Regions from separate parts of the Homo sapiens genome. Here all the other regions are linked to region 1. Evidence: promoter capture Hi-C in 16 types of primary human blood cells and fetal thymus (Javierre and others, 2016). All regions are on one chromosome and are shown on one strand. Each heading gives the region's core, a stretch centred on a gene start or on the middle of the fragment in contact. The rest is flanking DNA. Distances are from core to core; before and after follow the strand shown. Region 1 holds the start of OSBPL3 (oxysterol binding protein like 3). Region 2 overlaps KLHL7 (kelch like family member 7). Region 3 has its middle 9.3 kb from the start of IGF2BP3. Region 4 overlaps TRA2A (transformer 2 alpha homolog). Region 5 has its middle 9.5 kb from the start of TRA2A. Region 6 holds the start of LOC105375187 (a long non-coding RNA gene).

Region 1 (4,618 bases), core at 1,447-3,946:
CAAGTTCCTAAACCTCGTTTTCCAATTCTTCACCTGAAAAATGGAGATAACCTCACAACAATGCCCAGCAAGACGGTGAAAATTAAGCTTACGGGCAGGGCGCGGTGGCTCACGCCTGTAATCCCAGCACTTTGGGAGGCCGAGGTGGGCAGATCACAAGGTCAGGAGATCGAGACCACCCTGGCTAACACGGTGAAACCCCGTCTCTACTAAAAATACAAAAAATTAGCCGGTCGTGGTGACGGGCGCCTGTAGTCCCAGCCACCCGGGAGGCTGAGGCAGGAGAATGGCATGAACCCGGGAGGCGGAGTTTGCAGTGAGCCGAGATCGCGCCACTGTACTCCAGCCTGGGCGACAGCGTGAGACTACGTCTCAAAAAAAGAAAAGAAAAAAGAAAATTACAGCTTACTGCAGCCTGGGAGTATCTGGCTTATGATGTAACTATTAACGATTACTGAAAATATATCTCAATAATAAAACAGTAAATCTTTTGGCTAAGCCATAGCTTTTGATACAAATAAAGCTAAATGCCTATTAACTAATGGTGGAAACCACATTTTAGTTTATTCGAAGAGGTCAAGCACAATAGAGACAAAATGGGCTGGAATCCTAGTTCTGCCAGGATAACCTTGGCAACACAGGTTAACCTGCTGGACCCTCAATTTCCCATCTGGTTAAAAATACCTAGCTAACAGACTTCTGTAAGTTTAATGCGGTAATGTACAAAAGTTCCTAGTATTGCTATTTGTTAATTTTCCCAACAGTAAAAAAAGGATAAAGATGAAAATCAAAATCAGCTATGAAATCCTCATTCCTCATATTTACAGAGAAGGTTTCATTTATTCATTCTATAAATGTTTACTGCAAACCTACTGCGTGTTCTTGACACAGGGGATCAAGTGATGAACAAGACAGACAAGGTCTCTGCATTCCTGGTACTTACATCCTAATGAGGGAAGGCAGATAACCCAATAACCCAAAGAGACAATTTCAGAGAGAAATTTAAGTGCTATGAGCAACAGCAAACGGGTGATGTGGCTTGGCTGGAGGGGATGGTCATTTAGCTTGGATGCATAAGAACCTAGGCCTGCTTGACTGATCTCCTTTAGCCAAGTATAGTCCTTTAGCCAAGGACCTCACCTTGTATGATACTTGCGGGGTACAGTGCAGATGATGAGAAGCCAGGCCTTCGCTTTCACCCATCTGTGGAAGTATCTCTTTTGCAGCTGTAGTTTAAAATATTTCTAAATGCCCTCATCCCAATACTCAAACTCTGAGGGTCAGAGCAACACCTAGGGGGTCTCAAGCACCTCTGCGCAGTACGCAGACACATGGAAACCGACAACTTCACAGTCCCCTCAGCTCCAAGAGTCCCGACTGAGGAGACTGGTGGCTTGTGAGGCGGAGAAGGACAAGCACAAGTGTGCAGAAGGCAGCAAGCAAGTTGCGTTGCCGAAGGAAGGGCGGCGCGCCCCTGCTTAAGAAGTATCTGGACGACCTGCGACAGTGCCCATCAGCGACTCCAGAGGCCACAAACGCTCCCCGGGAAGCTGGGCAGCGCTAAGAGGCTGCCTGGGAGTTTCTGGCTTATGATGACAGTACTTAAAGAATTTACCTGACCACGGAATAAACAGAGACAGAGGTAGGAAAACCCAACTGTAGACAACGTTCAGACAGAGTGCATAAGTCCCTAAGACCCTGAACTAAGACGCTGCAGGGCCTCCAGGAAAGGACCAATGTGAGAGACACTGAGACGAGAGTTAGGGTGAGCCTGAAGGTGATCTGAACAGTAGTAATTGGAAACTAACAAAAAAAAAAAATTCCAGAAGGGGCCAGAAAGCTGATGAATATGTAAATTCAGACAAGAAAGGAATGTGCCCTGGGCCTCCAGCCCAGCACCGGGGAGCTGAGCAAGCCGGGGTTGGGAAGGCGGGCGAGCGGAGCGCCTGCCCCGCGAGCGTTGTCTCAGTCTCTCCGGCGCGCCCCATCCCGCGGATGTGGTAAAGCTTCGCGCTCGCCCCAATTTACCAGGCTTCCTGAGCCTCTAGCCCCGGCGTAGCGCCTCCCCGCTGCCCAGGACAGCTCCGCGCGCCGCGTCCTCCCGCACCTGCGCCGCGGCCCCTGCGCTCGGCTCCTCCTGGCGGTCAATCCTCTGAGCCGTCCCTCGAGGGAAGGTGTCCTGGGGTGGGTGAGACCCGGGTCCTCCTTCCCCGGGAGCTGCAGCCGGCACCCAAGCTCCCAGGCTTGGGTCTGCCCCAGGGCCGGAGCCTCCCCGGGCGACTCGGACAGACCCCGGTCCGGCAGAGAACCGCGGCGCCCCGCAAACAGCAGCCCTTCCGAGCCCGCGCCGCCGCCAGGCCCCCCGACACCCAGGCCCCATTTAGGCGGGCGCCCCGCCACTCACCTGAGCGCTGTGCAGCCGGAGACGCTCCCTAGTTCCCCGGGGCCGGGCTCCGGGGTTAGCGCACAGAACCGGGAGAAGGCAACCCCGGCTTCTCCGGTACCCCCGCAACGTGCAGCTGACAGCTCCCGCACCGGCCGCAGGAGTCGGGGGCGGGGATGGCCACTTGCAGACAGACTGCGGGGCCGGAGCCGCGCTGCGCACCGGCCGCGAAGCGCTCAAGTCCCCTCTCCCGGGCCGGCTGGCGGGCGCCACCAGCACGCGGCCAGTTCTGAGTACTTTGCCCAGAACTTCTCGGCGCGCGCCGCCCGGCGATTAGCCCGAGGAGCCGCGCAAGGGCGGGAGCGCAGGGGAGGGGCCTGAGAGGCCCAGGGGCGGGGCCCCGAGGGGGCGGGAGGGCGGCAGAGTGATGCACAATCTCACCAATCAGAAGTCGCCTTTCGGGAAGGAGGTGGGGCGATGTCCTCGGAAGAAGCCAGCGGATTCCATGACGCGGCGGGGGAACTAGGGACCCCGGATTCCGGATGGGTTGGGAGGGCGGAGGGAGGCGAGTCCTGCGGCGAGGCACTGGGTGGGGCTCCCGGTGGCCCAGCTCGGTGCCTGCGCGCGGTAGGCGTTCGGTAAATGTTCCTCTAGTGGCTTTTCCGGGCCAGGGAAGGAGGAAAAAGTGAGGGCAGCGCGGGAGGGGCAGGTTTACGGAGAAGGCTCCAGGGGACCCTTGCGGTCGCACAGGCTAGGAGAACTCGACCTCCCGAGAAAGTCAGACTGTGGCAGAGGAGTCGAGAACAGAGGAAATACATAGGGAGGCAGCACTCTAGGCACGAGATGACAAAGGACAGCATCAGTGTGAGACCCGGGGCTCGGAGACCGTGACCCTACCTCCAGAGGCAGTCGTGCAGATTCGTGCCGGGGTGATTTTGTTCTGTGCAGTTTATGTGCAAGGGGGTAGGAGGTGGGGAGAGCACCGTCGTTACTATTAAATCTCCCTGAAAGACGGAAAAGTCCACCCGACTTGACTTCCCACTAGCCCAATGGCCTTCTTTGATCCTAGGACGAATGCAAGCAGCTGATGGTTTGGGGTCAGTTTGCAGACTGCAAATGTGTCGAGTGCCGCAGGTGGCGGGTGGGAAGGGCATGAGCATTTAGTGAGCACCTAGTATATGCCAGGAGCAGTTGCGAGCTTGCAACTGTGAGAAAGGCGCACCAGGCTCCAGTACTCACGGGGCTTGCATTTTTTGTGGAAAGACAGACAATAAAGAAGAGAAAATACATATCTATGCAAAAAATAAAAGGCTGACAGACTGTTAGTACTGAGAGGAGGGCCAAGTCCACTTTCGAAAGTGGTTTAGCGCGTGATGGGGCGCTCACCCTGAGGGCCTCTAGGCGAGGGTGGCTTTTACCCAGATTCCTGAGCCTGGGAAAGGAGCTGCCACACCCAGTCTCGCACAGAGCGTTCCAGGCGAAGGGAATAGCAAATACAGGGTATTTAGCCTCCCTGAAGACCCAACTAACCGACCTCACCGAGCTGGGCACCGCGCGTGGCTCGCTGGGCTCAGCGCCTGGGACGGAGTAAGGGCTCCACAGTGTTAAATCCCCCTGCCAACCACCACCTGCAGCGCTCGACGCATTTTCAGTCTCCAAACTGACCCCAATTCAAGGTTTCTGAGACTCTTTCCGGAGCTATTCTGTTCACATTTCATTCACCACGCTCAGATCTTCGCTTTCTGGAACCATCCCCCTCGCGAAATGTCTGGGACTGTCTGTTTCGGATCTGGCAGGCGGCGGGCGAGGGCGGGAGGCGCCAGAGATGCTGCCGAGCAAATCCACTGTCATGCTGCCCACGTCGGCACACGGAGAAGCTTATTGGAGAAGATTTCAAATCGAATGACTCCGCGGTTCCTAAACCACCTCGCAAAGCCCGACCAGCGCCAGGTGGCTGGACGGGTAGTGGAAGGACGCGTCTGGCAGGCGCGCGGACCGTCCAAGGAGGCACCTTGCCCACGCCCAGCCCCGCCGTCGGAGCAGCTTAGACTGGGTTTTCCCAAACCTCCTTCCGTCTTTCTGTAATTTCTCTCTGAGAGAGGCTTGCTCTGTCCTCCTCCTGCCAGTCCCTTTCCTCGTTCAAGCTATTTTCTTTCTTTTTCTTTTGCTCTCCACCTTCAGCCTCTCCGCCTGTTTCTTTAGCATTGGTTTTTCTGTAGGAGACAAGCCTTCAAT
Region 2 (4,618 bases), core at 303-2,802, 1.9 Mb before region 1:
GCAGCCATCGATAAATACCATGCCATCTTCTAAGGGCACTGTGCGCCTCTGTTATTAAGAGGAGCTCTTTGTTCTGTCCTTGGTGTGTGGTGCATTCGTGAAATTCTGCAGCACATCGGCGAAAGGTGGGTTATGAAAAGAACGGATTTTAACGCTGGCGAAGGTGAAACAAAGAGGCTTTTTTTTTTTTTAATTCCATAACATCTACACCGATAAGCATAGAAAGTCACTTTTTCCTTTCTGTAAGCTTTATTTATAGATAATACACATCTAAGTAGATTTGTGGGAATGTTTGGGTTTTGTTGACTGGGATCCTGTTTCAAGGGGACAAAGCAGGATGTGAGTTATGTGTAACTGCAAAACCTAGTTTGCTTTGTCTGGTGGTTCTGCTGGGAATATGGGCAACAGTAGAGGAATTTAAGATTTTTATGAAGATATTAACTTCTGGTTTCTATAAGCAAACGCTGACTGCTGGGATTTTGTCTTTGTTCACCAGCTCCTGCTACAGTGCACCAGTGCAGTCTGTGGGAATGCTTTTAAATCTTTCCTGGCCTGGCCTTTGTGCTGAAGTACTGTGAATGCCTGAATTCGTTAATTTATGTAACTGACTTTCATGTATCTATTTTCAAATTCATGTTCCTTTCATGTAAACCTTTTTGTATCTACAATACCACAGACTTCAAATTGCTGGTGCATTTAGCTATTGCCTGCCTGTAATGGTAGTTGAACATAGTTAACCAGGGCTTAAACTCGTTGAAGACTCATTAGGTTCCCTCCCACTCCCTCGAATATATGTTTTCATTCGTGGATCATAGCATTGTAAAGCATTGCCTTAATCCCTAAATAGGGTGAAACTGGATTGCAGCAGCAAATATTTACTTGAGGAGCAGAGGATTATCTGAGACTGTCCGTTTAGCTCTTTGGATTTAAAAAGTGACTCACATTTCTTAGCTTTGGAGTATATTAACATCACTTATTTACCGTTACAATAGAAGTACAATTACTGAAAAATCAGGGTTCTGTTACTGAGTAGGAAGGAAAAAATGGTTACCTGGTGAACAACCAGGGGTCCCCTCCACAATGATTAACTGACCTTAATCTGCCAGGTTCTCCTGTTGTCAGTGGTTTGGCATGTGATTCAAACAGTTCTCCAATAGCACTTTTATCAACTTCATGGAATCATGCATCTTTTGCAAGATGTGCAGTTTCACTTCGCAATTGATTTACATTATGGTTATATTGTATTGTCCTGTTTAACATCATAACACAGGAAACAATTGACCGAGAATGACTGACAAGGGCAGTTGATGGGAATTGGCAGAAACAGTGGCTGGTCTGAGCCAGAGTAGGAATGTTTGAGTGAGGACCAACTTTATAAGTGCTCTTGTTCTTTAGTAAATATTTTTGTGTTATGACTACTTTTACATCCCTTTACAATCTCATTGCTTTAAGGATCAGGATAATGAGTGCCTAGATGACAAGGACCCCTCTGTAAACATCCAGAAACATTCCTTCAAGAATTTGAGAACATTGTGAGATTAGCATACCTCAGTTCCAATCCTGCTCTCTCATTATTTCATTTTGTTATTTTAGATAACATGATTTGGGTCATTCCATCTCTCTGTAGTATAGTGGCCGATTCTATACATAGAGGCAAAAGGGGATTCTGCAGAGCCAGCAGCCTCGGCTTCTTCTAAAGCCTTTTCCTACATTGTTTTTGTCATTTCTAGCCTTTTGTTTCTAAGTAAACTCTCCAGTGAAGTATGGGATACATATAAGAGGGCACAAATCATAAATGTATAGCTCAATTATTACAAAGTGCACATCCCACCAACAAGACGAGAACATGACCAGTACACCAGAGGTCCCCCCTTATGCCCTTCTCAGTCACCAACCCCACAGTAGTAACAACTATTCTAACTCTGTAACCATCGAAGTTAGAGCAGAAGCAACCATTGATAAATACCATGCCATGCCATCTTCTAAGGGCACTATGCACCCCTGTTATTAAGAGGAGCTCTTTGTTCTGTCTTTGGTGTGTGGTGCATTCATGAAAGTCTGCAGCACATCGGCAAAAAGTGGGTTTTTCCTGTGTTTGAACTTATATAAATGTAATCATATGGCATAAACTCTTGTGTTTTGTTTTCTTAAAGCCAACATTGTTTGTGAGATTCATCTGTGCTGTGTGTAGCGCTACTTCATCCTTGTGGTATATAGTATCCCATTGAATGAATATAGCACAATTTATCCATTCTATCATTATGAACATTTGGGTTATTTCTAGTTTGGAACTATTAAGACTAGTACTACTTTGAACATTTTTGTACACTTTGTACATGCCTTTTGGTATGCATATGTATGTATTAATATTTGTGTTGGGAAATACCAAACAGGAATTTTTGAGTCATAAGCTATACCACCTTCAGCTTTAAAAGATATCGTCGTGTAGTTTTCCAAAGTGATTGTACCATGTTACGCTTCTGCCAGTTGTGTGTGAGAGAGGTTTTTGCTCCGCATCCCTGCCATCACTTGATGTTGTCAGTCTTATCACTTTAGCCATTCTAACTGGGTGTATAGGAGCATCTTATTTAATTGGATTGAGTACCTTTTCATTTATTTCTTTAACTTTTTGCTTAGATTAATGTTATTACCTGATATGTAAAATAGAGGCTTTACAAGGCAGGTCTGGGTCACAGTCACTATTGCACATGCACATTGCTGTTGCCATACTCTTCTTTTGTGTTAATGAAGTCCAGGAGTCTCTTAACATTGGAGGAAGATGTTTTAAGACCTTCCTGAGTACCACCATAGTTTATAGTTTCTCCACATTAAATGAATTAAAGCATAACTGGAACTTGAAAGCTTATGTTAAAGTCCTTATTGAGAGTTATGTGAGAGAACTACAAAGCTGATTTCACAATTAGATACTGGGCAGTTAACTGGGCTCACCTTCCGGCTAAAATGACTTTGCTTCTGTATTCTCATCTGTCTGACTGTAAATTACTACATGTCATTATCTTTAGGTTCTCTTGTGAATAATCTAAACCTTCAGTGTTAAACCCTTGATATTAATAAGACTTCTTGAGCACTTATAACTGTTCCAGCCACTCTGCAGAGTGTTTTACATGCTTTGTCTCATTTAATTCTCTTAACTTTCATTGACAATTCCAGTCATCCAGACCTTCTTATTCTTTTTCCTGTACTTTACTGTTTTCTGTTTTCTTTTTCTGTCTGTCCAGCTTAGAAGCTATTGTCACTCCACTGTCTCTCCAGTGTCCCAGTTTTCTTGACCCTCTGTCCCTTTTTCATGTCCATCTGGCAAACTTGAGTATTGATGACTGATTACCTTCTTTGTGCAAGGCTCCAAGCACAGCTGGAAAATATCTCACTGGGCAACTTCTGCCAAGTAAGTGCTTGGCCACTAATTTCCACTAGACTATCAGTGCCCGTGAGCAATCTTTTTGTTTTACTATTTTCCTCCAATCTGAGTCCTTTCTCTAGATCCTCACTTTCAGCAGATCACCTTCTTTTGACACCATAGATAAATAGAAGTCATTAGTCTAGAACTGTCTACCTTTTCACTTTCTACCACCAGATCTATAAACCTATTTTGACACTTTCCCTTTTCTCTTCTTATCCTGCTACAATGGAGATGCTGCTGCTTTTTCTAAGGCCAGTACTTCTACCTAGGCTTTGGCTTCCTGGATGCTGGGCTTCTCAGAAGTATTATACTGTTGGTTATTCCATCTTTGTTGAGCATCTTTAACTTTTCTTCTTTGCTGGATTCTTGCTATTAGCACTTAAGCTTGTTTTAACCTCTCCAGCTTTTGAACCAAACAACCAGCAAACCCATTCTTAATCTCAACATACCCCTCTAAATACTTCTCTCCCCCCATTAAGATGAAAAGCTGAGTAAATTCACTACATTTTCTTTTGTTTTTTTTTTAATTTTATTATTATTATACTTTAAGTTTTAGGGTACATGTGCACAATGTGCAGGTTTGTTACATATGTATACATGTGCCATATTGGTGTGCTGCACCCATTAACTCGTCATTTAGTATTAGGTATATCTCCTAATGCTATCCCTCCCCCCTCCCCCCACCCCACAACAGTCCCCAAAGTGTGATGTTCCCCTTCCTGTGTCCGTGTGTTCTCATTGTTCAAGTCCCACCTATGAGTGAGAACATGCGGTTCACTACATTTTCTTACTTACTATTTATTTATTACTCTAGTTCAATTTGGCTTCCAAGTTCATTCATTGAAATGAATACTTATTGACAACCCACTGTATGCTAAACATTTTGCTAGATTCTGGGGTTGCAATGATAAGCAAACCCTGACAGTCCCAATCCTCTTGTGGTTTATAGGCTAGTAGAAAAGCAAGACATTAGTCAAGTAATCACACAAATAAATGTAATATTGCAACAGTGGTAGGTATTACACAGGAGAATAACATGGTACAACGAGGGCATATGGGTGGGTAATTTGACCATCAGGAAGTTTTCTCTAAGGAAATGGTCATTGAGAGCTGAAATAAGAGTAGGTGTTAACTAGGTAAAGAGAAAAGGGAAGAGTGACTCAAGTAGAGGGAACAACATATTCAGAGGCTCTGAGT
Region 3 (4,618 bases), core at 1,444-3,943, 1.5 Mb before region 1:
TAAATATAAACACATGTATATTCTTAATCTGTGTATATTCTTAATCCCCAATGTGATTGTTGGCACTATCACATTGGGGATTAAGAATACACAGAGAGAGAGAGAGTTTTTCTTGCTTTTTCTCAACTGACTTAAATTTCATGATCAATTATTTCTAAGTTGACAATACTAGTGCCTTCTTAAAGGCAAAATTTTGTTTGAACTGAGGTTTAATTTAATACCAATAATTGGATCTGATTGATAATTTCCAATTCTTGATTGATTTTGTTTTGGTGGGTGGGGGAGGGGTCTTGTGTCATTCATTGAAGCAGTTTTTCTGTTTTTTAATACTTTTTTATTTGTAGGGTAAACTACTCATATATTATTTGTAACTTAAAATCTTTTTCCTAGCACTTTCCAAGACTTGAAGAATAATTTAAAAGTAACTAAATCTTACTTATAAGATTTGAATAAAGACTTTTTAAATTGTGTACAACTTAATATAAATAAATATGAAATATTTTGTGTTTTAATCATCCATTAAGCTGAAATAACTGCATGGTCCCTTTTTTATAAGTAGCCTAAATCTAATCCAGCTATTAGAAATCTAATTCATAAAAAAGATACCAACGAAGTAACAATTCATAAAAGCCAAAAAAATCAGTTTTTGTTATAACAGAAATAGATACTGTTTCTGTCATCTGGTGAACATTTTGTTATTAGACAATTAAGTACAGAATGACATTACCATGTTTTGTTTTCGTTTGTTCAAAATTGCCTAGAATTTTGTCCCTTGACTCTGTTACCATATATCTGATGGTAATTTCTTTGCTTTTGTATTTCTTTGCTACCAAGATTCAAATAATATCTTTGCTTTTCATTTAAATAAATATCTGTAAAAAGCCAAATAGAAAATAAACTGAAGCATCAAAAGTTGTAGTGTAGTACACTGTAAGTGCTTATTTCTGCAACCATAGTGATATATTCAAGTTTTATTTTAATCTCGTCAATATAGTGACTTTTTTAAAAAGATTAAATTGAATTTTGTTTTAAATATTAATTAAGCAAAAAAAAAGTCGAGTAGATGTTTTAATTCAATGAAATAGACAATAGGGCGAAAGGTAACATTACTCTGTTCCCTCAACAACAACAGATCTTCCAGTTGAGGGCAGTTTTGTCGGATATGGAATGAACTCAGTGTGTGCACTTGGACATATGAATATATGCACATATTTCTGCTGAGAAGCCCTTTAGAGAGATTAGTGAAGGAGAAAAGCAAGATAGAACTTGTGTTCAAATTCTGAGGTTGCAGGTTAAAACAAGCAAGGCAAGCACTACTTTTAAAGTGTTTTCTTAACCATCAGAATACTTCAGTATGATGTCTTTAAAGCTGGGGAGATAAGACTAACAAAACAGTATAGATTGAACTGAAATTACGATGCTACTAGTATATCACCATTAGAACTTACATCATATAAATGTGTTTTCCATTTTATGTCTTTCTATAACTCGTTTTCTATTTAAAATATATGTAGTTAGTATTATACATATAAAACATCCATCAACATTATTAAAACATGAACGTAAGCAGTTTAAAAATTGGTAGAAATAATACGGGTCACATATTTTGAAGTTAAATTTATCTCGAAAATATGAAGTTATCACAAATCCTTTCTGTTGGATTGTTCTACCACTTCTATTTGTGTACATTATCCATAATAGATACATTAATCAAAATAAGCAGTGTTATTTGAAAAAATGTCTCTATAAAAAAAGAGCTAAAGATAGATACTGGTCTGTTCTTGTCGTGAAAACAACAATGGTTTTTGAAACTTAAATAAGGAGAGAAAACTCAGATTTAAGTGAAGTGTGGGTCCTGTTATTTACTGTCTTTATTGGGGGTTAGGAGAGCTGAGATTAAACTGTAATGTTGCTTCAGGAATGACTACCAACAAAGTTTTAAGTTGCTATAAATGAAGAATATTATTTCAGTCAAATGATAGCCCCTTCCTGTTATTCTTTAAAATAATTATTTCCTTGTTTATTAAATATCCTTAAATTATTTCATTGCAAAGTGAGGGGAAGTCATATTGTATTAGGATAACCAAACATTTTAACACTTTGAGCCTCTAAATGGATGAAGAATGCCCATTGCTTTTTAAACAAACCAAAACAAAAACAAAAAAAAGTTTATCTTTGTTAAAATAAGTGATGCATTTATCTTCTTTCTTTACCTATGGCAATGTTCTGCTAACATAGTAATAAGCTGAGTTACTCTCTGGATGTGGCAATTAATAGAAATAAATATATTACAGTGAAGCACAGAGAGGATATATAAGCAAAAAAAATAAAAACATCAGATTTATGGAACTCTGGATTAAGCTAAAATTTAGAGTATCTTCTTACAACCAAATCCAGTGATCAAGCTTATAGTCTTTAAAACCTGTAACAAAGTAAAAACTTGAAAGTATTGTTAATATGCAGTTATTACTAATTATGATAAAAATCTATTTGTGGTTTTGTTTAATGTAACTATATAATATAAAATACAATTATTTTGTTTTTAAAGGTTTTTTCCCATGTTTCTTTTGAGTAAATTCAAAAACTTGAAAGTTAAACTGAGCCGGGCGCAGTGACTCATGCCTGTAATCCAAGCACTTTGGGAGGCTGAGGCAGGCGGATCACAAGGTCAGGAGATCGAGACCAGCCTGGCCAATATGGTGAAACCCCGTCTCTACTAAAAATATAAAAATCAGCTGGGTGTGGTGGCACGCACCTGTAGTCCCAGCTACTTGGGAGGCTGAGGCAGGAGAATTGCTTGAACCTGGGAAGCAGAAGTTGCAGTGAGCCATGTTGGTGCCACTGCACTCCAGCCTGGGCAACAGAGCGAGACTCCATCTCCAAAAAAGAAAAAAAGAAAGTTAAACTGAAGACTGTTAAAGTTGTTTTATAAAAATCAGATATCTGTGGATTAAAACATGGTCCTTTTCTAACTTTTCCATGAAAGCTTGGAATATAACCTATTAAAAGCTAACTGACAGCCAGGCGCAGTGGCTCACGCCTGTAATCCCAGCACTGTGGGAGGCCGAGGCAGTCAGATCGCCTGAGGTCAGGAGTTCGAGACCAGCCTGGCCAACATGTTGAAACCCCGTCTCGCCCTCCCCCCCAAGCTGTTTTTCTAGCATGTTGCCCTTTTTCAACCACATTTGTGTTTCAGGTGTAGAGAGGAGAGTGAACAGGGAGCGGGGCTTTTGTCTGTTGGTCTCCCTGGACTGAAGAGAGGGAGAATAGAAGCCAAGACTAAGATTCTCAAAATGGTTTATTACCCAGAACTCTTTCTCTGGGTCAGTCAAGAACCATTTCCAAACAAGGACATGGAGGGAAGGCTTCCTAAGGGAAGACTTCCTGTCCCAAAGGAAGTGAACTACAAGAAGAACGATGAGACAAACGCTGCCTCCCTGACTCTACTGGGCAGCAGTGAACTCCGCTCCCCAAGAATCAGTTACCTCCACTTTTTTTAATCGTAACACCTCCATTTGTATTACATACGGTGTATGGGTATTCATGAGGTCATGGTACCATATATGGGATTTTTTTCTGTGTAAATCATTAAGTATAAGAGGAAACTATGGGACTCTGAGCCTTGCTTTAGAGAATTTACAGTGGACAAATAGGTATCATCAAACCAGTTTTTAATCATTCTGACCCAAGTGAAAATGCTCAGAATTTCACACTGTGAATCCACGTTTACAACCCTTACAGGTGGGCCTTCAGGCCTGGTTCGCTACAACAATGTCTTCCACAACTCAAATTCCCACCGCGTTCACACAACCAGTGCACTCCTGCCTTTTCACTCACACAGCTCCCGACCGCTTCTTGCAGAGGCTGAGAGTCCCCCCCTTTTTCTTCATTTAGATGTAACAAACCTAGTAGTTTATGTTTATCAATTGTCTGTATATCTCTATATTTTATCCATGTACTCTTGATGTATAGACATAGTTTGAAACTCGTTTCCTTGTGGTAAGTGACCGAGATGCTGCCACAGGACCTGAGACACTGATGAATGGTGCTATTTTGGACTTTCATCATGCTCCTTGGCGAGGTAGCTCTGATGGGGTTATTTTTTATTTCCATGTTCTAAGAAGGTGTTGGTACTCTGTTTCGCTGAATGTTTTTCTCTAGACTGGATTGACTTGTTTTCCTTGTGTCTTCAGTGTGGCTTTCTTCCTCAGTGTTGTAGGTTGAGCGAATGCTACCGAAGTGTGAGAGACGATTGTCTCATTGGCTGGCACTCACGGACATGCAGTCACGGTAGCGGGAGCAATCACAAAACTGTAATTTACTTACCAAATCTCTTCCTTTCTATAGCCTCGCCTGCCTGACTTACAGAAAGAAAAGCAATAATTTTACAGGCATTTTGAGGTGTCTCTTTGGGTTCTTTCTGTTTGAAAGGATATTTGTGGAAAAAAAGAGCAAAACCTTTTTAAATAAATTCCCCCTGAAAAAAACCCAAAACACTGGCATCTGAGTAGGAATATGGAAATGACACCTTTTCCAAATATTACATTGGAAAACAATGTCTTTACAAAATCACAATACTTTTTTAAAAGGCAGAGCATTCTTTTTTTGGCAATTTTGA
Region 4 (4,618 bases), core at 1,107-3,606, 1.5 Mb before region 1:
CATTTACAAAGAGCAGTCTGAGAAAAACTATAATTTTGAGTCTTTCGTGAAATTTCTACACAAAATGCAGCCAACAACTGCTTTGTCCTCAAAAACCCCAGAAGAATATTTTAAGTATTATCTTAAACACACTTACCTGGATTTTGATCTTGATCGAGAATGGGATTCAGAGTGTTTGGAAACCCTTGATGGACTACGAGATCCTGACCTGCTCTCCGATTTTACACGAGCAGGAGTTCCCGTTGGAGATTTTGACTGAGAGCGAGACTCCTAACAAAGAAGACAGTATTACAAATGGCACTGGTCATGTAGATGCCTAACACCTAACATTTAAAGTACCGTAATTATTTATATTGATTGCTCCTGAAAAACAAATGGTTAGACAACACCCTCCAGAAAAAATTTCAGCTCAATAATAACCCACTGTTAATACTGCTAACTGTCCTCAATAATTCCCTACTTGAACCAGATCACCAATTCTCTATTAACTAAGTAATCATGCAAATTCATCTACAACTTGATCATACAGACACTGGAACATAAACCATACATTTACTTAACCTAGGACCCATTCATTCTTCCAGATTCTTTTAATTCTACTTCACTCTTGCTTTCTACTTCTCTTCATTCTTCATTGAGTTTTTCATTTTTCATACTTCGTGTATTCTTCCCCAATTCAAACAATTCAAAATAGCCTTAAAAAAATATTCAAGTGCTTCTATCTGACCAATCTTCTGTTCAATTTTTTCCCCCATTCAATTTTAATTTTCTGATCTTTAATACTTTTCATTAGCCTTCTTTTATCTTGATTTATCTTCCACATTCTTGGAAAAAACTCTTCAATTTCTTCACGAACATTAACCTTAATGGAAAAAGAACATTTAGTATATTTAAGCACGTGGGGATTATAAAACTCTGCTGGAGTTCAGAATGTTATCTACCAAATGGAAAAGCCAGCAGGTAAAGTGCAAGTAACTAGTTTATTTAAAAAAAAAAAAAAAAAACAATTTTATAGTCTTTAAAATTGTTCAAAACTCTAGTTTCTAACAAAGAGAATTTACTAAATTTCTCTAAATGCTTTTTAAACCATACTCTTCACCCTCCTCCCATGTTTCATTCTAGTTCCTAAAATGTGAGCAATTTTAATATAATTCAAATATAAATCTAACAACTATAATTTCCCCCCACCTAAGTGTTAAATTTTCACTACTTTATAATCTGAAGATTCTTAAAAATAAGCTTTCACTAAGTCATGCTAAGAAATCAAGATATAGTTAGAGCAAGGCATCCCAGGCTGAAATATTTGTACACACCTATCTAAACTCACCCATAGCACATGTCAAGGTTCAAATAAGTCAAAAAGAAAAAAATCAGTAAAATTACACCTTCTCCCAACTTTGACTACTATCTTTGCTCATTCTGACTTAAAATATGTTCTGAAGACAAACATACCGAAAAAACTAATAAGCATGAAATTCTTAAAATTTCCCCATTAGCTTATTAATTCCTGATATACACATTTTTGCAACCAGATCACTTTAAAATGCTCTATTATCCACGACATACCACAATGTGCAAGAAGGTACAAAATTTATATCATAGTCTTTATCTTTGATTCCATCTCTTTAGAATTATGTTCAGTTTTTACATAATTTATGCATTTATGTATACTGGTACTCCCTTCAGTGACTATATTCTATATCCAAAAAGTGATGGGTTTCTGAAAAAATTGGGTGTAAATCAAAGCATTCCAAATAAAATAACTTACTGATCATAAGCTTGTTTTTTTTAACTGCACAGATATGAGGCACTTATGATCAAAACAGGATGGACAGCTTGGTTTCTGTGTCCAGTTAAGCCTTGATTATCAGTGTAAATAATTATCTCAATTTCACAGAAGTAATTTCACACCAATTTATTTATGCCTTAAGACTATCACACAACTCAAACAGCTTTCTGAAAACTTTTCCTTTGCTTCAAGTTTAATGTCAAGACTTATTTATCAAGAACTGTACAAATGCCACCTGGTCATTTTCTTTCAGATAAAAACAAAACTGAAATACACAGCTACCTTTCAGCTCAATACCAACCTTTCCCATTTAGCTACCTACAAGTCTTTCACTGCATCTCAGATACTCTAAACCACTCAACAGATGTCTGGAGCAGGCATAGCAATCTGGGCTTTTTCATTCACTGAAACTATGAAAGCAGCATATTCAGTATCTTATAAAAAAAGGCATGGCTAATTTGCTTGTAATTTAAGTTTCACAGACTGGTTCATTAATCAAACTCATAAGAGTATCTTCCCCTCTTCTCTTTTGGCTTTCCTTTCCACAAAACAGACCCTGTGACATAACATTCATTTATGCTACTGTTGAATAGCAATAGCTGGATTATTATCTACGAACGCTGCTACAGTCCTTCTCAAACATACACAGGAGGCTTTGCTCTGTAAAACACTACAATTCTTTAATTTTACTAGGATGGAAATAAAAACCTTTTATTAAAGTAAACAAGATAATTCAGTAACATCTTAAAATTCCAATTTTAAATCCCAGTTTTGGAGTAGCAACAAAGCATTATGGTATGATAGAATGTCTTTTTAAGAGATGTTAGCTTATTTATTTTAAGAAGGAGGAGTCTCATTCTGTCACCCAGGCTGGAGTGTAATGGTGCGATCTAGGCTCACTGCAACCTCCACCTCCTGGGTTCAAGTGATTCTCCTGCCTCAGCCTCCTGAGCAGCTGGGATTACAGGCATGCACCACCTTGCCTGGCTAATTTTTGTATTTTTAATAGAGATGGGGTTTTCCCATGTTGGCCAGGCTGGTCTCAAACTCCTGACCTCTAGTGATCTGCCCGCCTCAGCCTCCCAAAGTGCTGGGATTACAGGTGTGAGCCACCGCGCCCGGCCAACATCAGATTTATTTTAAAAGAAGCTTTGCTTTTTATTATCAAAGGTGTCACAAATACCTAACCTCCTTTGTTGTCTGCCCTTCTTTCTTTTTATCTCAGAGGAAATCTCAGTCTGCACAAATTTCTTCATGGAAACATCTAAGCTAAAAACAGTCCTCTTAGCTGTCTCTAACTCCTAGCTACAAAGTTGTCACTATGATTTTAACTATTTTTTTTTTTTTTGAGATGGAGTCTTGCTCTGTAGCTCAGGCTGGAGTACAGTGGCACCTGATCTCAGCTCACTGCAACCTCCGCCTCCCGGATTCAAGCGATTCTCCTGCCTTAGCCTCCTGAGTAGCTCAGCTTACAGGTGCACGCCATCACACCCAGCTAATTTTTGTGTTTTTAGTAGAGATAGGGTTTCCCTATGTTGGCCAGGCTGGTCTCCATCTCCTGACTCCTTGATCTGCCCGCCTTGGCCTCCCAAAGCGCTGGGATTACAGGTGTGAGCCACCACACCCAGCTTCATTTTAACTTTCAAAAACAACTTACAAACTTATATTAACAAATCAGTAACTATTAGTAAACTTAACTGGAAGAATAAACTGCCAAGTATATAATTATTTAGAAATAAAGTAACATTTCTCAAAAGCTGTTACCAAATAAATGTCACTTTCACTGAACTCTGCATTAGGAATCAGGCTATAAGAAGTCCTTTATATAAAGAGGACAAATGCTAGGCTAATCCTTTTCTCTCTGACTCGTCTTCATTATGAAATAATTTCAACTTTTTCTCAAAGAAATTCATAAAACTATCCACAATTTGGAAAATGAATTGAAATTGCAAACAAAAAAGATTGCTGGGAATGGGTGGTATCTGCCCTGTTTCACTAGACTACTTGTTCTTAAAGCTGTCCAGTCAAGGAATCCTACCATTTCCTCAGTAATCTGGCTCCTGCATCCAATAACCATTAAAAATACACTGCCCGGTTTAAATGGGCAGATTAATAACTCAACTCGTATCATGAATTTTAACAAAAGTCTTAAATAGGCCTCCAGTCTATCTTATAGGCTATAAAGCAGAAGCCAGGCAGAAAAGTTCTTCTCACAGCACAACCTGCTTTAACAGGTTTTTGTTTTGATGTTTATTTGCTTGTTTGGTTTTTCTGTCACCCAGGCTGGAGTGCAGTGGCACAATCTTCTCATTGCAACCTCCAACTCCTGGGTTCAAGCAATTCTGCCTCAGCTTCCTGGGTAGCTGGGATTACAGGCACCCGCCATCGCACCTGGCTAACTTTTGTATTTTATTTTAGTAGAGACGGGGTTTCACCACATTGGCCAGGCTGGCCTCGAACTCCTGACCTCAAGTGATCCACCCGCCTCAGCCTCGCAAAGTGCTGGGATTACAGGCATGAGCCACTGCACCCGGCCTGCTTGTTTAAACTATTCTTTATTATCAAGATGACCCTGCTGTTGGTTGAAGGAAATGGCCAAAAATTAAAAGGAGGGAACTAACTAAAACACTAAGAAAGTGTTATAGTGTAACCAATACAAGCTGGTTAAGAATTGTCTTTCTGTGTTAAAATAGAGTTGTATTTTACACACTGTGAATAACCACAATAACCATGTACTATTCTTTTAATCAGGAAAAGGGTTATTATATACATGTACACAATGTTGCGGAACATGAACAATTCCTACAGCAAGCAATAACTGCAGTCTTT
Region 5 (4,618 bases), core at 1,171-3,670, 1.4 Mb before region 1:
CTACCGCACCCAGCCATTTTATAGATTTTTAAAGCTGAGGCGGAGAGTAGTAAAGCAACTTGCCCAGGTGAGTCAGACAGCTGGCACAAAGCAGAACTGGGGATTAAACTTGGGTAGATTAACACTCTTAACCATTAGGCTCCTGTGCCTCCCAGCAAGCCACTGGCATTACAGATAAAGAGCTCAAATGAGCAGACCTAAGTTTAGTCTCCAGTCACTCAAAAATTACTTGTTTTAACCAAGAACTGAAGTGCTGATATTGTACAAACTCTTGCATGAAAGTAAAAACAGATACACTGAACAGTTTATATTAATGATTTCACGATGCACCAGGCCAAGCCAAGAAGGTAATTGTCTCACAGTGGTAGTTTTTTTTTTTTCAACGTATACAGCTTGAGCTTTTGCTTTAAACATGTGCACATCTGCACATGTGCATTTCTTCCTTTTGACCAGCAAGCAGAGAGATACCTCCACACCACCTGAATATCCATTTGCCCATCAACCATTCAGTGGGTTCGGCATCCATTGAAAAATCTTTGCCTGAATCAGCCATGCTATTCAAAATGTGGACTTTCCAACTCTATCTTGTCCCTATATTCACCAGCTGGCAATCTTCTAGTAAATAGTTTCGTTTTTCTTTGTTTTGTTTCTTGCCCACTTCCTCTCTCTGCTCAATAGTGTTTTTTTTTCTTTTCTTTTCTTTTTAAAGAGCTTTCTCCATCAACTACAGGTTATTTGACTATTTTGAAATACAGTTCCATCGCTTCTCAGCCTTTTAGCTAGGATCACATGCAAAATATAGTTCCTACTGGAAATGATAAATGCTTAATTATTTCCTTTAATTGCCAATTTCAGAATAAGGTGTTTGTAAAACAGCTCCAAAGGTGGAATATGAAGCTTTTCGATGATATAACTGAAAGGGATTTTCACTTAGAGTCCCTTTCCACTTACATACTGTGGTGTTATGATATTCTTGTACCCATTTTCGTCCAGGTTCCTGGCTGATAACTCCCCATAGGCCTTGTTACAGTCTTTTGTTATAATGTTAGGTGTGTTAGGCTTCTTGCAGGCCTCAGGCCTCTTTGACCTTCTCCTCTACTCCTTTCACTTGACCCAAGGCAGGACTCAATACTATTCCCCTGCCTTTCTGATTGTGGGTCATAAGACCCTCATTCCAGAGAGGCCAATCACATTTCCAAATAATTGTCCATAAAAACCCAGGAGGACTGGGTTCACAGAGTTTTCAGATAGCTAATACTTGGAGGTTCCTGGAGGGTGGCTTGCCCAGGGAGGGCATGGAAGCTCCACACCCCTTCCCCCATACCATATATTTTGTAATGTTTCTTTGAGTTTTGTGAGCTGCTCCAGCAAATTTATTAAACCCAAAGTGGTGGATGTGGGAATGCCCAAAGCACTAGGGTTATAGGCATGAGCTATCTCTTCTTTTTAATATTATTACTGTTATTTTTTGAGACAGAGTCTGGCTCTGTCTCCCAGGCTGGAGTGCAGTGGCACAGTCTCTGCTAACTGCAACTTCTCCTCCTGGGTTCAAGTTATTCTCGTGCCTCAGCCTCCCGAGTAGCTGGGATTACAGGCGCCTGCCACCATGCCCAACTAATGTTTGTATTTTTGGTAGAGACAGGGTTTCGCCATGTTGGCCAGGCTGGTGTCAAACTCCTGACCTCTAGTGACCCACCCCTGGCCTCGGCCTCTCAAAGTGCTGAGATTACAGGCATGAGCTGTTGTGCTCGGCCAAAAATATATTTTGTGGCCTCCCCAGTACCTCAAGCCTGTAATCTCAGCACTTTGCAAAGCTGAGGTGGGAGGACTGCTTGAGCCCAGGAGTTTGAGACCTGGGCAACAAAGTGGGACCCTGTCTCTAAAAAATTTAAAAAATTAGCTAGGTGTGGTGGTGCATGCCTGTGTCCCCACTACACAGGAGGCTGAGGCAGAAGGATCACTTGAGCACAGGAGGTCAAGGCTGCAGTGAGCAGTATTTGTGCCACTGCACTTCAGCCTGGGTGACAGAGCAAGACACTGTCTTAAAAGAAAAAAAACAACCAACCAACAAACATTTTATCACCTCAAGCACTCAGAGTAGAACACAACAAAATTAACCCATAGCATTTAGCCAGTTCTTAGGAACTAGATCTCAACACTGAAAGAGAGAAAGATCAACCACATTCAAAGAGAAGATAGGTAAATTAGAACATCAAAATTTACAACTTTTGTGCATTAAAGGATAATATCAACAGAGAGAAAAAACAATCCACTGAAAAGGAGAAATATTTAGAAATCATATGTCTAATAAGGGTCTAGTATTTAGAGTAAATAAATAACGCTTACAGTTTAAGAAAAAACAAGCGGCTTGGCGCAGTGGCTCACGCCTGTAATCCCAGCACTTTGGGAGGCTGAGGCGGGCAGATCACAACGTCAGGAGATCGAGACCATCCTGGCTAACATGGTGAAACCCTGTCTCTACTAAAAATACACAAAAATTAGCCGGGCATGGTGGCGGGCACCTGTAGTCCCAGCTACTCAGGAGGCTGAAGCAGGAGAATGGCGTGAACCCGGGAGGCGGAGACTGCAGTGAGCCTTGATCGCGCCACTGCACTCCAGCCTGGGCGACAGAGCAAGATTCCGTCTCAAAAAAAGAAAAGCAAAAACAAGCCTGGGCAACATAGTGAGACCCCTTCTCTATTAAAAAATTTACTTATTAATTATTTATTATATTATTATTTATTTTATTTTTTATAGAGACAGGGTCTTACTATATTTCTCAGGCTAATCTCAAACTTCTGGCCTGAAGTGATCCTCCTATCTTCGCCTCCCAAAGTGCTGTGATTACAGTCATGAGCCACCATACCCAGGCTATATCTCTTCCGTAGGGAGAAATCTACTGAAGTCCTTTGTTCATTTTCTAATTGTTGGTTTTTTTTTTCATTTTTTATTTAATTTTAAAAAATTGTTAGCTTTTGTTGCTGTAAAATTTTTTTTTCTTAGTTTCTTGTTTTGTTTTTGTTTTTTGGTGTTTTGGGGGCACAGGGGCTTGCTCTGTCACCTCATAGCCCACTGCAGCCTACAACTCCTGGCCTCAAGCAATCCTCCCACCTCAGCCTCCCAAAGTGCTAGAATTATATATATATATATTTTTGTAATTAGCTGGGTATGTTGGTGTGGGTCTATAATCCTAGCTACTGTGGGAGGCTGAGGTAGGGGGATGGCTTGGGCCCAGGAATTGGAGGCTGCAGTGAGCTACAGTGGCAGCACTGCACTCCAGCCTGGGTGACAGAAGGAGACCCTGTCTCTAAAAAAAAAAAAAAAGCAAGATGATATATAAATGGCAAATGAACATATGAAAAGATGCTCAACACCATGAGTCTTAGAGAAATGCAAATTAAAACCACAATGAGATACCACTTTACACCTACTAAGATGGCTACTATAACGTTGAAAAAAGAACAATCAATGACAGGTATTGAAAAGGATATGGAGAAATTGGAATCTTCATACACTGCTAGTGGGAATGTAAACTGGTGCACCTTCTCTGGAAAGCAGATGGGCAGTTCCTCAAAAACTTAAACAGAGAATTACTGTATGACCCAGCAATCCCATTCCTAGGTATATACCGAAGGGAAACATATGTTTGTTCACATGAAAACTTGTATGCAAATGTATATAGCAGCATTGTTCATGATAGCCAAAAAGTTGAAATATTTCAAATGTTTATCAGTTGATGCATGGATAAAAAACTGTGGTATGTCCATACAATGAAATACTATTTAGTCATAAAAAGGAATGAAATACTGTTACATGGTCCATCATGGATGAACCTTGAAAACATTATGCCAAGCGAAGGAAGCCAGACACAAAAGGCTATACATTGGGAGCTTCTGGATAGTGCGTGAAGGTTCCTGGAGGGTGGTGCACCTGGAGAGGGCATAGAAGCTTCCAGCTCCTTCTCACATGTCTTATCCTATGTATCTTGTCATCTGTATCCTCTGTAATATCCTTTATAATAAGCTGGTAAATGGGACCAGCTGGATAAGCAAGGGCCCTCTAGTTTCATCTCCAAACACAATGTGGGCCACTTCATATTGTGCTGCCTCACCACCAGTTAGTACGATGGGCGTAGCACCTGCTCCTCCCACCTGTACAACTAGGACTCTGGCCCTATCTAGGAGGATGGAGTTCTAAAAAATTAGGAACAATTGAAGGAGCAATGAAGCTTGAGCCAAGAACTTCAAGTTAAAAAAAAAAAAGGCCACATTTTGTTTTTGTTTTGAGACAGGGTCTCGCTTTGTAGTCCAGGCTGGAGTGCAGTGGCGTGATCTCGGCTCACTGCAACCTTAGCAGCTGGTCCCATTTACCAGTTTATTATAAAGGATATTACAAAGGATACAGATGACAAGATACATAGGATAGGACATGTGGGAAGGGGCTAGAAGCTTCTATGCCCTCTCCAGGTGCACCACCCTCCAGGAACCTTCACACGCTATCCAGAAGCTTCCAATGCATGGCCTTTTGGGTCTTACTCAGTTGCCCAGGCTGGAGTGCAGTGGTGCACTCTCAGCTCACTGCAACCTCCGCCTCCTGGGTTCAAGCGATTCTCCTGCCT
Region 6 (4,618 bases), core at 1,150-3,649, 1.4 Mb before region 1:
TGAGGATATCTGCTCAGCAATTGTCTGTCTAACCTCAGACTCGAGCCACCCTTGTTATTATAGATTCTTGTAGCCAAGGATAATTTCAAAACAATTATGTAATGCCCCTAATTTTTCCTGTAAAAACCTTTGTCTTCCTTTACCTCCTTGAATACACACATAGTTTACTGTGGCATGTGTATTCCCATTGCAATGCCCTATTCCCAAATAAACATATTTTTCTTTTAGAGAGCCTCTCTCTGTTGTTTAGGTTGACACAAATGGTGCCAGAAACAGGACCTGAAAAAAGATCACTATCACAAGGAACTGACAGTTCTTGAATCTGGTGCAGTACTCATTTCAGTTCTCTGCTTCCATGGCTCACTTTTTCTGCCCTGATGAGTCTTCTCTAAGACCACGCCCCCTTCTTTATGGTAGAAGCTCTTGACTTTATTTGGGGTCTGATTTGAATAAGGCAGCCCTAAATAAAGGACTTTACATCCCTCCTGGGATTAAACAAAGACTTTTTGTATTTTCTGGGAAGTCTTTTCTGATTTCTACAGAATTTCCATTCTGTCTGTGAGGCATATCTTTTCTGATGAATTTACTTTTGGTCTGTGTGCCTACTTTAATATTTTGTCTGATCCACATGCCTGGGTTAAAATTTTTATGAACTTTCTTGGTTTTATTTTGGTTACATGCAACTTTTTTGTTGTTCTTTTCCCTTTATGTTGCTCTTTTCCCTTGCTTGTTTCTGAAAATCTTCTGAGAGCAAAAATAAACATTCTTTTAGAATGGACACATTCTAAATGATGGACACAGGATGGCTAAGTAAAAGCCACTAGAGTGGTTGCTACCATCAAATACATTGGTCCAAACTTATGACATTCTGACAAGATTGATAATTTTCTTTGCTCTTGAGAGATTGATAAGTAATGTAATGGGGTTTTCTTAATTTTTCTTTCTTTCTTTTTTTTTTTAAGAAACAGAGTCTCACTCTGTCTCCCTGGCTGGAGTTCAGTGATGCAATCATAGATCATTGCAGCCTTGAACCCCTAGGCTCAAGTAGCTAGGACTACAGGTACACGCCACCATGCCCAGCTACTTTTTTTGTTTTGTTTTGTTTTGAAGAGACGGTGTTTCACTATGTTGCTCAGGCTGTCTCAAACTCCTGGCCTCAAGAGATCCTCCTGCCTTAGCCTCCCAAAGTGTCAAGATTATAAATGTAAGCCACTGTACTCTGCCTGGGATTTTCAAACATTAAGGCATGCCAAGTTTTCTGGGACTCCAACCAGCTATATTTGATGGCCCATTCTCATGCACACTTAAAAAACTGATGGGTTTATGAAACGTTACAACAGGTCTCACTTAATCCTTCATGGTCATTTCATTTATTCAGCTGGTTAAGCCTAGGTTCATGGCTCAAAACTATTAAGCAAACTGAGATTATCATTTTACTTTATATTTTTCCTTTTTTAAACTTTGTATCTGTTACTTGTTAAATTTTTGCAGAAGTATAGGTCTTAACAAAATAATGCTGGGCCAGCACTTTGAGATGACAGCCAAAGACTATAGACCTCAATAATAAACTCCAGGTAGACTTAGCCTGAGAGCCATTTTCTTCAAACCTCCCTTATTGCCCAAATATGGCTTAATGGTTTTTGACACTGACTCATCACCAATCACTCCCCACAATGAGGGAAGAAACCAGCAACCAGGACAGGTTCAACCTGGCCTCCAGGGACATCAGAATGTAACTACAAAATGACTGATCAGTGATGCATTCTGAGAAAGCTCTTGATCAAAAAAGGGAAATGTGAAAATTGTCAGAATCAAAATGGAGTCACTTGTGTTAAAAACAAAACACCCTGACAGAGCTGGGGAAGGCTAAGAAGGGAAGGCTTTCACATGTGTATACCTGATAACTAAACTATTGCAAAAGACTCTGCAAAAACCACAACCTTACATAAAGACCACTGCAACCTTACACAACAAGTACTTCTGTGTGGACATCTGCCCAGCAACTGCCTGTTGAACCTAGAACTGGAGTCACCCTTATTATTGATCCTTGTAGCCAAGCATAATAATTTCAAAGCAATTATTTAATCCTCCTCATTTTTTCTTTGTCTTCCTTTACCTCCCTGAATACACACAGAGTTTACTGTGGCATGTATATTCCCATTGCAATGCCCTATTCTTAAGTGAGTGTCTTTTTCTTTTAGAGGTCCTATTATTTAGGTTGACAGCTTTAAAATAAAGCTTGTTTTTGTTTTGTTTTGTTTTGTTTTTGAGGAAGAGGCTTGCTGTCGCCCAGGCTGGAGTGCAGTGGCACAATTATGGCTCACTGCAGACTCCACCTCCTGGGCTCAAAGTGATCCTCCTGCCCCCAGCCTCTTGAGTAGCAGGGACTATAGGTGCATGCCACCACAACTGGCTGACTTTGGTATTTTTTTGGGGGGTACAGATGGGGTTTTGCCATGTTGCCCAGGCTGGTCTTGAACTCCAGGCTCAAGCAATCCACTTGCCTCAGCCTCCCGAAGTGCTGAGATCATAGGCATGGGCCACCGTGCCTAGTCTATAATAAAGCTTGTTATCCGGTAGCACAAGTTTTCCTCCTCCCACTCCTTCTCCTCTTCTTTTTTTTTCTTCCTCCTCTTCCTCATGAATGCTTGTCTTTGCTCTTCCATAACATTTTGAATTAGCTTGTCAAGTTTCTCACACATACACAGAAATTTATTGAGATTTTGTTGGGAATTGCACTGGCTCTGTAGGTAGGTTTGGAGAGACTTGGCATTTTTCAGTATTGACTCTTCCAATTTATGAACATGTTACATCTTTATTTAGGTCTTCTTCAGTGTCTTCCAATGTTTTCTTCAGGCAGGTTTTGCATTTCTTTGATCGATTTATTCCTAGGTACTTGATATTTGTTTGGAGCTGTTGGAAATGGTATCTTTAAAAAAATTATCTTTTTTACTAGCATATATAAATAAATATTGATTTTTTAAAATATGATTTTTGTATCTATTAACCTTGTTAAAAACTTTTATTGTTAACAGTTTATCTGCAGATTGTTTTGAAGTGCCACAAACAATTTTTTTTTTTTTTTGAGACGGAGTTCTGCTCTTGTTGCCCAGGCTGGAGTGCAGTGGCGCGATATCAGCTCACTGCAACCTCCGCCTCCTGGGTTCAAGCAATTCTCCCGCCTCAGCTCCCCGAGAGGCTGGAATTACAGGCGTCCGCCACCTCGCCCTGCTAAGTTCGTATCTGTAGTAGAGACGGGGTTTCACCATGTTGGCCAGGCTGGTCTCGAATTCCCGACCTCAGGTGATCCTCCCGTCTTGGCCTCACAAACTGCTGGGATTACAGGCATGAGCCAACGGCGCCCGGCCTCCACGTACATAATTACATAATCTATGAAAAAATAATTTTGTTTCTTCCTATTTAATCTTCAATCCTTTTATTTTTCTTGCCTCACTCCACTGGCTAAGGACCTTTGGCTTCAATAATGGGTAGTCTCATCTGTAGCACACTTAATCATCACTAAGCTTTCCCAGCCTCAGGTCAATAGTATTAGGAGGTTGGTTCCTCACCGGAGGGTCGGGAACAAGACGCCAGAGCCCTTCTTCCAGCGCCTGCAGCGAGTTAAGGCCGAGGGTATGCCTCTGGCGGGCTCATCTTCCAACACAGAAGACCCCGCCGCCCTCTCTGGTTGCCGCGCAGCTGCGTCGTTCTGACCCAGGGTAGGTGCAGGGCGGCTGGAAGCACGTGCCGCCGCTTCCTCATTCTGGGACTACATCCCCCACAATGCCGCGCGCCGCGGGCGGCTGGCCCCCGAGTGCGGGAAGGGCCGGCAGGGAGGCGGAGCGGAAGCCGAGTGCGAGGGACGAGCGGAGTAAAATCTCCACAAGCTGGGAACAAACCTCGTCCCAACTCCCACCCACCGGCGTTTCTCCAGCTCGATCTGGAGGCTGCTTCGCCAGTGTGGGACGCAGCTGACGCCCGCTTATTAGCTCTCGCTGCGTCGCCCCGGCTCAGAAGCTCCGTGGCGGCGGCGACCGTGACGAGAAGCCCACGGCCAGGTAATGAGTAAGGGGCGAGTCCGCCAGCCGGGCCCGCACCTCTCGCGCGCCCCTCAGCCTAGCCGGCCGCTCCTCCCCCGCCGCGCCCCCGTCCCCGGTCCCCGCCCCGCTAGGGCCGCTGCTGCGGAAACCCGGCTTAGGAACGGGCCGGCAGCCTCCGGCCGCGGCCGGGAAGGCTCTTTGTCCCTTCCTTTGGGCCGCGTCTCTGCCCCTCCGCGTCTGACAGCCGCGGCGCCTCGGCTCGGGCGGAGAGCCGAGCGTGGCTGGGGCTGCGCGAGTCGAGCGGGGCGGGCTTGGTCCGGAGCTGCGGGATGTAGATCCCGGGCGGCACCGCACTCACTTCTTTTTCTGTTTTTGACAGCTCAGTTCTCTTCTACTTTGGGAGAGAGAGAAAGTCAGATGCCCCTTTTAAACTCCCTCTTCAAAACTCATCTCCTGGGTGACTGGTAAGGATGAACTTAAACTGCCGTGTTGATTGTTGACTGTGACGGTAATGAGAATGGCTCAGCCAGCTAGGGTTCGAATCCTGCCTGGGTTTCTCTCACTGCCTGCCTTGGTGA

The links. Contacts are between HindIII fragments. The CHiCAGO score rates a contact against its expected background, and 5 or more counts as called.
Region 2: a contact is called between a fragment that was not itself captured here and the fragment with the promoter of OSBPL3 in region 1, in 1 of 17 cell types (fetal thymus). The highest score is 5.3, in fetal thymus.
Region 3: a fragment that was not itself captured here is called in contact with the fragment with the promoter of OSBPL3 in region 1 in 1 of 17 cell types (activated CD4 T cells); the score reaches 7.6 in activated CD4 T cells.
Region 4: a fragment that was not itself captured here is called in contact with the fragment with the promoter of OSBPL3 in region 1 in 1 of 17 cell types (non-activated CD4 T cells); the score reaches 5.1 in non-activated CD4 T cells.
Region 5: a contact is called between a fragment that was not itself captured here and the fragment with the promoter of OSBPL3 in region 1, in 1 of 17 cell types (non-activated CD4 T cells). The highest score is 5.1, in non-activated CD4 T cells.
Region 6: a fragment that was not itself captured here is called in contact with the fragment with the promoter of OSBPL3 in region 1 in 2 of 17 cell types (non-activated CD4 T cells and fetal thymus); the score reaches 7.6 in non-activated CD4 T cells.

The regions. Positions count from the first base shown.
Region 1 is chr7:24,977,482-24,982,099 of GRCh38, forward strand. OSBPL3 (oxysterol binding protein like 3) reads right to left here and starts at 2,697. Exons shown (of 23, transcript NM_015550.4): 1 at 2,405-2,697. RefSeq lists silencers at 2,087-2,296, 2,347-2,856 and an enhancer at 3,997-4,166. The HindIII fragment of the contact is 2,254 bases long and covers 2,005-4,258 here.
Region 2 is chr7:23,106,670-23,111,287 of GRCh38, forward strand. All of the region lies in intron 1 of KLHL7 (kelch like family member 7), which reads left to right. Among named protein-coding and RNA genes, the nearest start is that of KLHL7, 3.2 kb to the left of the region's middle. RefSeq lists enhancers at 1-277, 1-62. The HindIII fragment of the contact is 2,615 bases long and covers 246-2,860 here.
Region 3 is chr7:23,477,460-23,482,077 of GRCh38, forward strand. It overlaps the pseudogene LOC389473. Among named protein-coding and RNA genes, the nearest start is that of IGF2BP3, 9.3 kb to the left of the region's middle. The HindIII fragment of the contact is 581 bases long and covers 2,404-2,984 here.
Region 4 is chr7:23,521,571-23,526,188 of GRCh38, forward strand. TRA2A (transformer 2 alpha homolog) reads right to left here. Exons shown (of 8, transcript NM_013293.5): 2 at 137-270. Among named protein-coding and RNA genes, the nearest start is that of TRA2A, 8.1 kb to the right of the region's middle. The HindIII fragment of the contact is 1,160 bases long and covers 1,777-2,936 here.
Region 5 is chr7:23,539,184-23,543,801 of GRCh38, forward strand. No RefSeq gene overlaps it. Among named protein-coding and RNA genes, the nearest start is that of TRA2A, 9.5 kb to the left of the region's middle. RefSeq lists an enhancer at 532-721. The HindIII fragment of the contact is 3,051 bases long and covers 896-3,946 here.
Region 6 is chr7:23,593,548-23,598,165 of GRCh38, forward strand. LOC105375187 (a long non-coding RNA gene) reads right to left here and starts at 3,778. Exons shown (of 2, transcript XR_927098.2): 1 at 3,570-3,778. It overlaps CCDC126 (coiled-coil domain containing 126), which reads left to right and starts at 3,835. Exons shown (of 4, transcript NM_138771.4): 1 at 3,835-4,058; 2 at 4,420-4,504. RefSeq lists an enhancer at 195-244 and a silencer at 4,077-4,316. The HindIII fragment of the contact is 327 bases long and covers 2,237-2,563 here.